2 separate regions of the Homo sapiens genome follow, and region 1 is linked to region 2. Evidence: promoter capture Hi-C in human tissues and cell types (Jung and others, 2019). All regions are on one chromosome and are shown on one strand. Each heading gives the region's core, a stretch centred on a gene start or on the middle of the fragment in contact. The rest is flanking DNA. Distances are from core to core; before and after follow the strand shown.

What was found. Contacts are between HindIII fragments. The study calls those that stand out against the background at their distance.
Region 1: a contact is called between a fragment that was not itself captured here and the fragment with the promoter of REEP2 in region 2, in 1 of the 25 tissues and cell types used here (lymphoblastoid cells).

Annotation. Positions count from the first base shown.
Region 1 is chr5:139,322,066-139,328,956 of GRCh38, forward strand. MATR3 (matrin 3) reads left to right here. Exons shown (of 15, transcript NM_018834.6): 11 at 398-441; 12 at 533-902; 13 at 3,375-3,597; 14 at 4,098-4,219. Among named protein-coding and RNA genes, the nearest start is that of PAIP2, 16 kb to the right of the region's middle. RefSeq lists an enhancer at 13-1,212. The HindIII fragment of the contact is 3,855 bases long and covers 3,608-6,891 here.
Region 2 is chr5:138,433,053-138,440,485 of GRCh38, forward strand. It overlaps REEP2 (receptor accessory protein 2), which reads left to right and starts at 6,005. Exons shown (of 8, transcript NM_001271803.2): 1 at 6,005-6,188. The coding sequence starts at 6,157. It overlaps KDM3B (lysine demethylase 3B), which reads left to right. Exons shown (of 24, transcript NM_016604.4): 24 at 2,568-3,975. The coding sequence ends at 2,648. RefSeq lists a silencer at 5,833-6,252 and an enhancer at 6,638-7,171. The HindIII fragment of the contact is 10,254 bases long and covers 5,333-7,433 here.

The DNA of each region.
Region 1 (6,891 bases), core at 4,285-6,784, 890 kb after region 2:
GTTTTTACATATTTAAAGCCACAACATTCTTTTAAACATTTTTGTATGCTAAAAATACAGGATTATTGAAACCTATTGAAATAAGTTATTGAAAGAGAACAACCTTTTTTTCTGGTCTTTAATGGCAGAAGTTTTTAAACGAGTCTTCCCTAAAGGACACCTTCATTGCTCTTATCTGTTTAAGTTTTTCATAGCGTTCTGCTACCAGAATGTTTTATTTTCCACTTCTCTGTTGGTATGGTCATGATGAATGTCTGTAGGCAGCTTAGGTTCTCAAATAAGGTTACGGGAATTGAATAAGCTGAGTTGATTATAGGGATTGTCTCCAATTATTAATTCACTGGATAATTGTGTATTCTGCAAATGTGTTAACTTCTGCAAAACTTTTGTCTTTTAGATTCCAAACAGAGGCATTGATTTACTGAAAAAAGATAAATCCCGGTAATTTCATTTTGTTTTTCATATGTGTGAGTATATTCAACTTTACTTTTTCAGACAACAAATTAATTGTGGTGTGTCCTTTTGATTTCAGAAAAAGATCTTACTCTCCAGATGGCAAAGAATCTCCAAGTGATAAGAAATCCAAAACTGATGGTTCCCAGAAGACTGAGAGTTCAACCGAAGGTAAAGAACAAGAAGAGAAGTCCGGTGAAGATGGTGAGAAAGACACAAAGGATGACCAGACAGAGCAGGAACCTAATATGCTTCTTGAATCTGAAGATGAGCTACTTGTAGATGAAGAAGAAGCAGCAGCACTGCTAGAAAGTGGCAGTTCAGTGGGAGACGAGACCGATCTTGCTAATTTAGGTGATGTGGCTTCTGATGGGAAAAAGGAACCATCAGATAAAGCTGTGAAAAAAGATGGAAGTGCTTCAGCAGCAGCAAAGAAAAAGCTTAAAAAGGTAAAGAAAGATACATTGATTTGTTTTAATAGAACATTAGATCAGATCAGTATTTCAAGTTATTTACCTAAGCAGGATCAGATAGAATTATATGATTTAAATCAGAAAATAAATCAGATATGAACCAGAATATAAACATTTAAATCTAAACTCTGCAATAAATAATTAAATAAGACATTTTATTATAGTTGGCAAAAAACATCAGCTCAAAGAGGAAACTTTTCAGTAAAAATGAGGGAGAAAGACTCAAAATATATGTGCTTCTGTATTGTAGTGGTGTAGTGGTAGCATATAGGTAGGCAGCCTTATAGTGTAGCTTTGAAAAAAAAAATACAGGACGTGAGTTTGCAGTAAGTTAACTGACCCAACATAGTTAAAACTTTTGCCACTCATTCAAAAATTATTGAATAATTTTTCCTATTTGAGAAATGTTGGCCTGGTCAGATACCTTAGTATCCTTTAAAACAATTTTATTTGAACAAGTAAGTCATTTAGAAGCCATGTATAAAGTGAATATAAATATAAAAATACACACATGCTATAAAGAAGAGTAAACAAAGGACCCACATTGAGCTGACTGCCTAGCTTAAGGAGTAGGGCATTAAAATGCCTTTGAGGCAAACTTTTTATGTTAAATGGCTCATAAAATGTCGGAGTCAGGCGGGCCCAGTGGCTCACGCCTGTAATCCCAGCACTTTGGGAGGCCCAGCAGATCAGTTGAGGCCAGGAGTTCAAGACCAACATGGTGAAACCCCGTCTCTACTAAAAATATGAAAATTAGCCGGGCGTGGTGGCACATACCTGTAGCAGCTACTTGGAAGGCTGAGACAGGAGAATTGCTTGAATCTGGGAGGCAGAAGTTGCAGTTAGCCAAGATCACATCACTGTACTCCAGCCTGGGTGACAAGAGCAAGACTGTCTCAAGAAAAAAAAAAAGTAGAGCGAAATGAGATTTTTGCCATCCTATTCCATATTCCATTGGTTCCTTTTATGCAACATTCAACTCAAAACCAATATTTACCTCAGTTTTTATTTGATGGCTTGGTCAAATAACTTCATTAATTTTTCTCACTAGAGCTGATCATTATGTTTACATTTGTAAATGCTAATAATTACTGATGTTTATGGCATTTAATGCCATACGTTTTTCTAAGTTTAAATTTATTAATTTAATCCTCACAGTAACCATATGCATCTCATACTGTGATCTCCAGTCCATAAATGAGGAAAATTGAAATATGGAGAAGTTAAATAATCCCATACTGCTTATAAGACACAGAGCCAAAATTTAAACTTGGGCAGTCATTCTTCAGAGCATGATTGTTTTTTTTTTTTTTTTTTTTGGAGACGGAGTCTTGCTCTGTTGCCCAGGCTGGAGTGCGGTGGTGTGATCTCAGCTAACTGCAACCTCCACCTCCCAGGTTCAAGTTCTGCTGCCTCAGCCTCCCAAGTAGCTGGGATTACAGGTGTCCACCACCACACGAGGCTAATTCTTGTATTTTTAGTAGAAACGAGGTTTCGCCATGTTGGCCTGGCTGGTATTGAACTCCTGAGATCTCAGGGTGATCCGCCCACCTCAGCCTCCCAAAGTGCTGGAATTACAGGTGTGAGCCACCATGCCTGGCCCAGAGCTTGGTTTTTTAGCCATTACACTGTTTGAGTATTTGCTCTAAAGAGTAGGTATTTGCAGTATACTGTCTTACAAAGGATATTGCTCAACTTTTACCAAATCAAGTTTTTTACACATTGCCTAGCAGCATTGTAGTCTCAGAAAAGATAAAATATGAATATTCCTATCTCATTTAACTTCTGCTCTTTGTGTGAGGCAGACCTTCCATTTTTTAGTTTTAAAATAAGCTAAATTATTTTTCAAATTATCAGTAATTTTTTGGAAGAAAGGAAGAAGTTACTATTTTGAGCCAATGAATAAAGACAAAGACGCGGCCGGGCACGGTGGCTCACGCCTGTAATCCTAGCACTTTGGGAGGCCGAGGTGGGTGGATCACGAGGTCAGGAGATCGAGACCATCCTGGCTAACACAGTGAAACCCCGTCTCTACTAAAATTACAAAAAAAATTAGCCGGGCGTGGTGGCGTGCGCCTGTAGTCCCAGCTACTCGGGAGGCTGAGGCAGGAGAATGGCGTGAACCAGGGAGGCGGAGGTTGCAGTGAGCCGAGATCGCGCCACTGCACCCCAGCCTGGTCGACAGAGCAAGACTCCGTCTCAAAAAAAAAAAGGCAAAGACGCTATCCGTTTCCCTTCAAGTAAAGCAGACAGAAGGGATGCTGCAGGATAATTGTTGCAGAGTAAATTTGTCTTTCTTAACAGCGTCGTTTTCCAGGGAGTATGGAAGGTTTTGTCACTCTAGATGAGGTTGGTGATGAGGAAGATTCGGAACTTCAGAAACTTCGTAAATCGGGCATGGCATTTAAATCTGGTGACAAAAATGATGATGGTTTGGTTGAAATTAAGGTGGACAAGATCGAGGAACTTGATCAAGAAAACGAAGCAGCGTTGGAAAATGGAATTAAAAATGAGGAAAACACAGAACCAGGTGCTGAATCTTCTGAGAACGCTGATGATCCCAACAAAGATACAAGTGAAAACGCAGATGGTCAAAGTGATGAGAACAAGGACGACTATACAATCCCAGATGAGTATAGAATTGGACCATATCAGCCCAATGTTCCTGTTGGTGAGATTTAAGTCTTTGTTCTTCACCTTCCTCACTCTCCTCAAAACAAACTCTTAGGTTTTAAAATAAGATTTTAAAGTTGGTCTTACATAAGCTGTGATAGCATTTTAAATTTGCTTTGTTTCTATGGGGAACAATTTATAAATCTTAATTGATATATTTTCCTCTCATGCATGTCTCTGATTTTGTATTATTTTCTGTTGTTATTCCACAATGTGTTCCCTTTTTTCGTAAAATTTCTTGCAAGTTACACGCTTTTGTTTTGCTTTTCTGTGTTGTTTTTCTGTATTATATTTCTTTTTTTAAGAATACAGTTAGGTGAGACCTCAAACATCAATTAGGTAAAAGCAAAATATGGTTCGGTTTTTGTTTTTTATCTTAGGCTGTATTGGACTTCTCAAAAACATGTTGTTTCATTTAAATTATGTTGACAGGTGAAATTGTGAATACTAAATAAAATCTTCAGTTTAATTTGTAAGAATGTATGTTTGTATTTCTAGGTATAGACTATGTGATACCTAAAACAGGGTTTTACTGTAAGCTGTGTTCACTCTTTTATACAAATGAAGAAGTTGCAAAGAATACTCATTGCAGCAGCCTTCCTCATTATCAGAAATTAAAGGTAAGGTTGAATGTAAAACAGTTCTTTTGTGAAAACTTAACAAGTTATGGAAATAAGTGGGGTATATAAGTAAAATGTGTATAGTGTTCTCTCTAGACTCAGTGCAGTGCTTTCTCCTGAAGATAACTTTTTATTTACTTTTTTTTTTTTTTTTAAAGACAGTTTCTCTCTTGTTGCCCAGGTTGGATTGCAATGGTGCAATCTTGGCTCACTGCAACCTCTACCTCCTGGGTTCAAGCAATTTTCCTGCCTCAGCCTCCCAAGTAGCTGAGATTACAGGCATGCACCACCACACCCAGCTAATTTTTGTATTTTTAGTAGAAATGGGGTTTCACCATGTTGGCTAGCCTGGCTGGTCTTGAACTCCTGACCTCAGGTGATCCACCCACCTCAGCCTCCCAAAGTGCTGGGATTACAGGCATGAGCCACCGCGCCTGGCCTTTTCTTTCTTTATTGATGGGTTATCAAAACATCTGTTGAACCTCTTGTCATAGTTTACCCTTGCTACATAACAATTTAGTGTTTTCTAACCATATTATAAATTCTGTGGTAGAATTAAACTTATTCAAGTATTCTCAGATTGTTGTTGGGCTGTACTTTCTCTAATTTGAAAGATGCTGGGAGTCTGAATACTAAAAGTGGCATGACCATTCATATTAAAATAATTTTTAATATTGACATTATTATTGACACTTCAGTTATTTTTATGACCAAAAGTATATAAAGATCAAAAGCATAAATACATAAACCACAACATCACTAAAGAATAATTCCTATTGAGATATATTGAAATTTGTTTTTGTAATTATCAGCTTCTTTGGACTACCTATTGAAATAGTGACTGAAACTTAAAAGTAGTTGCTAAACAAGTCAATTATAGATACCTTGGTTTTTCACACTGCTTTATAATAAGTTAACTATAGTTACTCAGTCATTAGATATGTTCTCTGTTGACTAAATGGATGAATGTAATCTTTAATTTTGGAAATAATTCAAGTTCTTGGCTGTGTGTCACTTCTGTTTTTTTTTTTTTTTTTAAATGTAACTGCTCTTTGCCACCTATATGTCTTTTACCATCCTGTATATGAAGAAAGAATTGTGGCTATTTGCAATGGTAGCAGCAATGTAGTACAAATTATTTTATTTTATTTTTTTGAGACAGTTTTGCTCTTGTTGCCCAAGGCTGAAGTGCAATGGCGCGATTTTGGCTCACCCCAACCCCCGCCTCCCAGGTTCAAGCCATTCTCTTGCCTCAGCCTCCTGAGTATCTGGGATTACAGGCATGCGCCACCATGCCCAGCTAATTTTGTATTTTTAGTGGAAATGGGGTTTCTCCATGTTGGTCAGACTGGTCTTGAACTCCCAGCTTCAGATGATCCTCCCACCTCAGCCTCCCAAAATGCTGGGATTACAGGCCTGAGCCATAGTGCCCGCCCTGGTACAAATATTTTTATCTGCTTTGATTTTAAGCTGTTTGGGGTCAAAAACTATATGTATTGTCGAGAAGAATATGGAAATAATATAAAAGATTGCTAGGTGCTTCTTGTGGCTCCTTTTATTATTTCCTTATATTTTATTTATTTTTTTTTTATTTGAGACAGAATTTTGCTCTTGTTCCCCAAGCTGGAGTGCAATGGCACAATCTCAGCTCACTGCAACCTCTGCGTCCCGGGTTCAAGCAATTCTCCTGCCTCAGGCTCCCGAGTAGCTGGTATTACAGGCGTGTGCCACTTCGCCTGGCTAATTTTTTGTATTTTTAGTAGAAACGGGGTTTCACCATGTTAGCCAGGCTGGTCTTGAACTTCTGACCTCAGGTGATCGCCTGCCTCAGCCTCCCAAAGTGCTGGGATTACAGGCGTGAGCCATCATGCCCGGCCTATTATTTCCTTTTATTAAAAAAAAAAAAAAAACTTTGTCACCTTCATCAAGAAACTGTTAAGCATTACAGTAACTTGCTAATGGTAAATTGATACTTTCCTAACTGGATGTTTGTGGGGTGATTTTTTGTTGTTGTTGTTTTTCTTTAAAAGATATAATGGCTTTTAATTCTTACTATTTTGCATTAACTATATAAAGTTGAAATTCCAATGAGATGGAAAGAAGCTTTGGACATTTTAGGTTAGATTTTTTAATATGTCTTTTGTACTTTCATTAGTGTCTTAATGGAGCTCCCGTGTCTAGAAACTCTAGCAGTCACAGGTTTAATGGCAGGGGTCAGCAAGCTACACTCGTGGCTCAGTCATCTGTTTTTGTAAGGTTTTATTAGAACCCACAGCCATAATCATTTAAGTGTCATCTATAGTTGTTTTAGTTTATAATTGAGTGCAGGATTGAGTAGTTGTAACAAAGACTGAATGGCCCAATGAGTCTAAAATATTTACTGCTGGCCTTGCAAGAAAATGTTTGTTCAGGTGATTTAATGAGTAGTGCATTGAGGCCAGATGTGATAGCTCTTGCCTGTAATCCCAGCACTTTGGGAGGCGGGGACAGGCAGATCACCTGAGATCAGGAGTTTGAGACCAGCCTGGCCAACACGGTGAAAACCCCGTCTCTACCAAAAGTACAAAAAAATTAACTGGGCTTGGTGGCGGGTGCCTGTAATCCCAGCTGCTTGGGAGGCTGAGGCAGGAGAATCACTTGAACCTGGGAGGTGGAGGTTGCAGTTAGCCGAG
Region 2 (7,433 bases), core at 4,755-7,254:
TTTTCTTAATTGCTGGTAGATTCAATCACCTTCAACTCTGAGTCTGATGCACTTTTCCTTTCTTTTTTTTTTTTTTTGAGACAGATTCTCAGTCTGTCACCCATGCTGGAGTGCAGTGGCATGATCTCGGCTCACTGCAACCTCCACCATCTGGGTTCAAGCAATTCTCCTGCCTCAGCCTCTCGAGTAGCTGGGATTACAGGCACCTGCCACTGTGCCCGGCTAATTTTTGTAGTTTTTTAATAGAGACGGGGTTTCACCATCTTGGCCAGGCAGGTCTTGAACTCCTGACCTCATGATCCACCCGCCCTCGGCCTCCCAAAGTGCTGGGATTACGGATGTGAGCCACTGCGGCTGTTTTTTTTTTTTTTTTTGAGACAGTCTCACTCTGTCACCCAAATGAAAGTGCAATGGTGTGATCTTGGCTCAACTGCATCCTTCGTCTCCTGGGTTTAAGTGATTCTCCTGCCTCAGCCTCCCATGTAGCTGGGATTGCAGGCATGCACCACCATACCCAGATAATTTTTGTATTTTTTGGTAGAGACGTGGTTTCACCATTTTGGCAAGGCTGGTCTCGAACTCCCGACCTCAGGTGATCTGCCCGCCTCCACCTCCCAAAGCGCTGGAATTACAGGAGTGAGCCACTGCACCCAGCCAACCATAGTTTTTATACAAAGTATAATCAACGTTGGTGTTTGTTTATTGAGATGGAGTCCCGCTCCGTTGCCCACGCTGGAGGGCAGTGGCGTGATCTTGCCTCACTGCAGCCTCTGCCTCCTGGGTTCAAGCGATTCTCCTGCCTCAGCCTCCCGAGTATCTGGGGATTACAGGCACGTGTCATCACACCGAGCTAATTTTTGTATTTTTAGTAGAGACAGGGTTTCACCATGTTGGCCAGGCTGGTCTTGAACTCCCGACCTCAGGTGATCCACCTGCCTCGGCTTCCCAAAATGCTGAGATTACAGGCGTGAGTCACCGTGCCCGTCCAACATTGGTGTTTACATAGAATGAGAATATAAAGGTAACATGTCACCTTATCCATAACACCTTTCCCGAGCTAGGGATGTTGGGTGTGTTTCTGCAGTCCCAGCCACTCAGGAGGCTGAGGTGGGAGGATTACTTGAGCCCAGGAGTTTTGAAGCTCTCGTGACCTATGATCACCCCACTACACTCCAGCCTGGGCAACAGACTCTGTCTCTTTATTTAAAAACAACAGGCTGGGCGCGGTGGCTCACGCCTGTAATCCCAACACTTTGGGAGGCCGAGGTGGGCAGATCACAAGGTCAGGAGTTCGAGACCAGCCTGGCCAATATGGCGAAACCCCGTCTCTACTAAAAATACAAAAATTAGCCAGGCATGGTGGTGGGCGCCTGTAGTCCCAGCTACTTGGGAGGCTGAGGCTGGAGAATCGCTTGAACCCAGGAGGCGGAGGTTGCAGTGAGCTGAGATGGCGCCACTGCACTCCAGCGTGGGCAACAGTGTTAGACTCCATCTCAAAAAAAAAAAAAAAAGACCTTTCCTGACTACCCTGTTTAGAATAACAACTCCTGCTCCAGCACTACCAGTCCCACTTTCACTACTTTATTTTTCCTGTAGTATTTTCACCATCTGAGATATAGCTATAGATACAGATATAGATATATTTTTTTAATCTGTTACTTAACCCTACTAGAATGTAAGCTATTTAAGCTCTGTGAAGGCAGGAATTTTACATTTTACTCACTGCTTTTCCTTAGCACAATGTCTGACACATAGTAGGTATTCATAAATCTTTGTTGAAGCAATGCAAAAAAATTAATGGAGAATAGTAAAAGAAGGACTTGGATGCCCATGACCCAGCTTAAGAAATTATAGCACACATACATATACAGCAACTACATGGTTGAAGCCCCCATGTACCCTTCCCCTTTGCATTTCCCCGCTTTTCCTCCCCAGAAATAACCTCAGTTTTCTTGTCAGCCCTTTAAAAGAAAGCTGTCTTTATTCTCTTCACCTTAATATGCCTGTTCACTTTTTTCAATAACTTTTATTGTGTGTTCCAATTTCACAGGTAATATATCCAAATCAGAAAACATATAAGCACGAAGGGAAAAAATAGGCCATAATCCTGCTTTCCCCTCTTGTTTTAATGCATCCTTATTAGCTGTAGAACCTTAAGGAAGCCTCTTAACCATATAAGGAAACAAAGTTCTCCAGGTGTTCACTGTGGCCTTAGTTTCCGCAGTTTCTCCTCTGTAAATTGGGCATGATAATAATAGAACCTACCTCATAGGATTCTGTCAAGGATTAAGCAAAGGTCCACATAAAGAGCTCAGCAGCAGCGCCTGCCCAGGACATAGTAAGCACATAAATGATGGTGATCAGATGGCCTTTCACATAACTTCATTATTCTTTTTTGAGTACACACCTCATGCCCTATGTGATTTGTAAATGACTGTGGGGATTGATACAGGAACGCACAGTCCTTTTTGGGAGTTTCCCCACTAAACCAGTAGGCTTACAGTCAAGGTAGAACGTACATTTGCATGGGGCTGCTGTGAACTGACTTTGCTGTACACCTTCTCTAGGTGAAGAACATCATTTACCATGCAGTGAAAGATGCGGTTGGCACCCTCAAGGCTCATGAATCCAAACTGGCAAGGTCCTAGGCATGGAGAAACTCCAAGCTCCTCTGTGAAGCAGGTCTTTCACTCACAACACTTAACAGGGAACGGCAGGGCTCTTTGCTGGAGCAGAGGCCCTTCACCCAGAGCCAGTGTGGTCAGTATTCCAAACTCTCCAGCCACTCTCTTCTACGCTGCCTCAACACTGAAGGTTGACACAGGAAAGTCGTACTGTTCACACACACAGTTTGAGACTCCAAGCCAAGAGTGCCACATCCCTATCCTGTGGCCTTTTGGAAATCCAAATTGCCTGAACATGGCGGGGCTTTCCTGCACATTCTCCTGATTTGAGATTCACGGGCACACCTTTCTTTTCTTTTCCTCTTGTGCCTAGTTAAGTGGAAATGTGTTTGGAGATAGGGGAAATCACATAACTGGTACAAGTATGGGGTAATTGCTTAAACATGCCTGGTGGAAGTCTGATAGCGTCTCTGCACGTGACCTCTGACAAAGCCCATCCCAGGAGACGGGGTGAAGCTATTCCCCACACTCTCCTGTGAACACTGGAGTCTTGCAAGACCCAGGGAGAACCCACTGCTTTTCCCAGGAGGCTCCAGGATTAGGAAATGTGTGTATTTAGTGAAAAATAGGTTTGTAGTGAAATAGTTACTATTTCATGAAAGTAGATATTTTTAGAATTTTTGAAATACCACAGTTGTTTTCCTGGATTATAAGGAAAGGCACATTACATTTAGTCTTCCTTTCGATATAAAACTCTTTGAAGAAATATGATTTTTAGAAATCAGCTACCCATTATAGCACAAAATCAGCCAAAGCAGAATTTTTAAAAATTGGCTTTTTTAGGATTCTTTTTCTCCCCCTCCCATCTTAGTCTTACCTTGAGGGAACAGTCATATGAGAAGGAACTTTGTCACATCTAAGCTGTGGTGTGTTCCCCATGTGTGTGTACAACACTGGTGACTCCAGGAACCATTTTCACCTATTACCAGTGTTCCCTGGGGACTCCTCTTAATGTTTCCAAATGGGAAGGACAGTTGATTTCCAACATGAGGTTTTTTGTTTTTTATCCAGAAATATTTTCAGCAAAACTTTCCAACTGAGTGGAGTCTGATTAAGGATTTATTTGAAAATGGTGGGATTCATTGGCCCATAGGTACATTGGAAAATGTATATCTCTCCAGCTGTACTGTAGTGCCCTGCAGGCTGTTTATATGTTCACAGTTACTTTTTTTTTTTTTTTTAAATAAAAGTCATTTAATGTAGAATACTTTTAATTTCACTTTCTGTATTTTAATTTTGTTGAAGGGCTGATTGGGATTTCCATGTTCTTATTAAAAATCTAACAAATCTGTTTGGAGTGGACTAAATTATTCGTGTACCAACCCTTCTAAAATCAACATCAGATTGGGAGTTGGGTTGGAGGTGGGGGATTCATTTCCAGGTCTTCATGACTGTGCTACACCCAGATATTTTTCTTTGCTTGTTGAGACTGTGCCATGTTAGAAAAAAGGAAAGTGCCAGGGTGAGGTCAGTATGGTTTGGGGAATTGGGGGTAAGGGGAAGGGGCCACATGAATTAGAGGGTAGAAAGAGAGACATGTTTCCCCATACTTTATGCTTTGTGAATGGAGTGGGAAAGTTGGGGTCCTCCCTTCCTGTGGCAGAGTCTGGGGGGAAGGGTCATGGTGTGTGGCCTCAGCAAAGTTGGACAGTCTGTGGTGGGATTCTTAAGCAGGCAGCCTGGCTGCCTACATGAAACGTGTGGCCATAGATCCACCTTAGAGATGGTGGGAGACACTCATGTGGGATTTATCAAGCAGTAATTAAAGTGTTTCATTGTGGGGTGATAACAGACTGCATTCCAATTAGGAGATGTTTTCTGGAGAGGAAGTTGTAAAGAATAGCAAGAGGGGTTATCAGAGGCTGCTTTTCTGGAACGTTTTGGGAAACATCTTCCAAAGTGTTTGAACCTGGAAATATAATTTACCAGGTTAGAAATAGACCATTGTGTTGTTCAGGGATACTGAGCTTGAATAAGACCATGACTCTTTGAAATACACAGTTCTGAATGTGTCCTTTCAGCCCAGATGGGCACAGGTTGATGCTGTGGTCACCCGAAGGATTACAACTCAACATAAAGGGTAGAGGAATGCAGAAGCTCTAAAATGGGACAGGAAAGGAGAGCAATAGGGCTGGGGGTGTTGGTGGATGGTTGGAGGTTGGTTGCTTTCCTGAAGATCAGGAGGCAGGCTAGCCTACATTCTGGATATAAATGTCTTTAGAATCAGGACATTCACTGCCACTAGTGCTTGCTGATGGGGGTGGAACTGGAGCCCCAGGACCCTCTCGCAGCCCCTCTGTTTGAAAAGAAGGTTGACCCTTTGTTGTCAGTAACCACATTGAGAGCATAAAGCTCTGTTCCGCTGCAAAGCTTAGGAGCTGACAACCTAAAAAAGCAGACCAGCAGCCCGGTGGCTCACACCAGTGATCCCAGCACTTTGGGAGGCTGAGGCGGGTGGATCGCTTGAGCTCAGGAGTTGGAGATCAGCCTGGGCAATATTGCAAAACCCCATCTTGGCAAAAAAAAACAAAAAACAAAAAAACAGGAATTAGCTGGTGGTGTTTTGGGCCTGTAGTCCCAGCTACTCGGGAGGCTGAGGCGGGAGGATCATTCAAGCCCAGGAGGTGTGCTGAGATTGTGCCACTGCACTCCAGCCTGAGCGACAGAGTGAGGACCTGTCTCAAAAAAACAAAACATCATCTGGTCAGGGGAGATCCTCTTTCAACGGGGTGAGAAGGAGTGGGGTGGACAGGTGCGGCTGTACCTGTGACTCAGGAGCTCAGGTGGATGTCTTCAGGGCCTGTAATGAGGAGAGTTTGCTAGTCAGCAGTTGGGGGATGTAACCTGTTTAAAGTAGGCTTCCTGGGGTCATCTTAGCAGCATGACTTGGTGGCTTTGTGACTCTCAACAGATTATTGAGCCTTAAGCTTCTCATTCCCTTATCTTCAAAATGAGGGCTTTTATAGCGCCTGCCTTATAGGGTGGTCAAGAGGATTCACTGGCAACGCAGTGAAGCTCTTAGCACAGGGGCTGGCACACAGTAAGCGCCTGGTGTGGGCAGGGCAGGAGGTGGGCAGGGGTCGATTTCAGGATGTAACCATGGAGACCTCCACGACAACAGCCTAGGGCTTGAAACCCAAGAAAGATGAACAAGCGATTCGAGGAAGGCAGGGCACTGAGGGTCGGAGGCGCATGCCCGGCCACAGCAGGTGCCGGGGCGGGGGCGCGCCGCCGCCGCCGCGGCGGCCTCCCGGCCTCCCCTTTAAGAGCCGCCACCGCCCACGGCCCGCCGCTGCGGCAGGGACCTCCCCTTTAACGGCGGCGCTGGGCGCTCCGCTGCCCCCGCGGCGGCTGCTGCAGCGGCTGCTGCTGCTACTGCGGCTCCTGCTGCCGCCGCCGCCGCCGCTCGGCCTCAGGCAGCTGCATCCTCGGCCGGGCCGGGTCCCCGCCCCGCGCCGCGCCCGGCCCCGCCATGGTGTCCTGGATCATCTCTCGCCTGGTGGTGTGAGTGCGGCGGCGGCGGGGGGTGATGCGGGCTGTGATGGAGGGCGGGGGTGTTAAAGCCCGGGTGGACTTCTCCGAAGCTTCGTGCAGCAGAGTCACCTAAAGGCGCTGCGTCCTTATTTGGGGCCCCCAGAGACATGGAGATGTGGCACCCAGGACTGGAGGGGGGAATATTAGGGGAGCGTGGCAGGCCTGGCTTCCCAGGGACCTCACCCACATTCTTTATTAATAACCTCTTTTATTTCTACCGTCCTTGCTCCTGCGCCCATCCTAGAGGCTGAGCAGCACGGCTTGATTTAAAAGGGGAGGCAGGCGCGTCCCCTCCCCCACCTAGCAGGTCTGGGCTGGAGGAGATCCTCAGACCCGGGCCCTGTCCCTCTGGGGGAGGTAACAGGGTGATGGAAGAGAGTGGAGCAAGGCAGGGCCTCATCATCATTCCGCAGCTCAGAGCCATCACCAGGCCCCTTGGTCTCTCCCTTCCACTCACTGTCAGGAGACTGGGGACGAGGGCATATGCCCTTAGGCCCCCTAGGGAGGAAGTCTGGGTATCGGGAAGCAGAAATGCTCGGAGGACAAAGTGTGAGAGGTAACTGGGAGAGGGGATGTGTGTGCTCAGCCTGGGATTGTGGACCCCGCTGGGGGAGGACGCTCCGTGGCCTTCATTCCAGGCTGCCAGCCACACTGTGGAGCTGTGTCTCTGGCACCTCCCCGGGCCCCAGGAGGGAACACACACCATTCCCCACGAGCCCAGACTTTGTCCTTGAGGATTCTGCTCCGCACTCCACTTGCACCAGCCGGTTTGGAAGTATCCCTCCTGTCCATGTGGAAACAGGCGACAGCCACACATTGTCAAGGGGCTGAGCCTGACAGGGGCTCCTCGTGGTTCTCGGAGCTATCCCCTGCCCTAATGAGGACACTGCCCCTCGGCCTCCACCGTTGGGGACTGACACCGGCAGCCCCACCCTGCTCCCTTCTTCCCATTCGGTACAGCCGGGCCGGCCAAGTGCTTCTGTCCTGGTTTACTCTAGACTCCTTCTCTTCCCCCACCCATCCCAGGGGGAATGGAGGGGCCTCACGCCTCCATGTGGCCTTCAGGGTGGCTGCTTCTCTCTTGCCTGGGCAAGCCCCAAAGGGCATCGGTCCTCTTCTTTCCCGGCCTGTGTCTTGTCTGCATTCTGTACTTGGATCACCAGCGGGGCCCTCCCCTGAGCCCTGTCCCTGTGGTGTTTACATGGGGGAATAAGC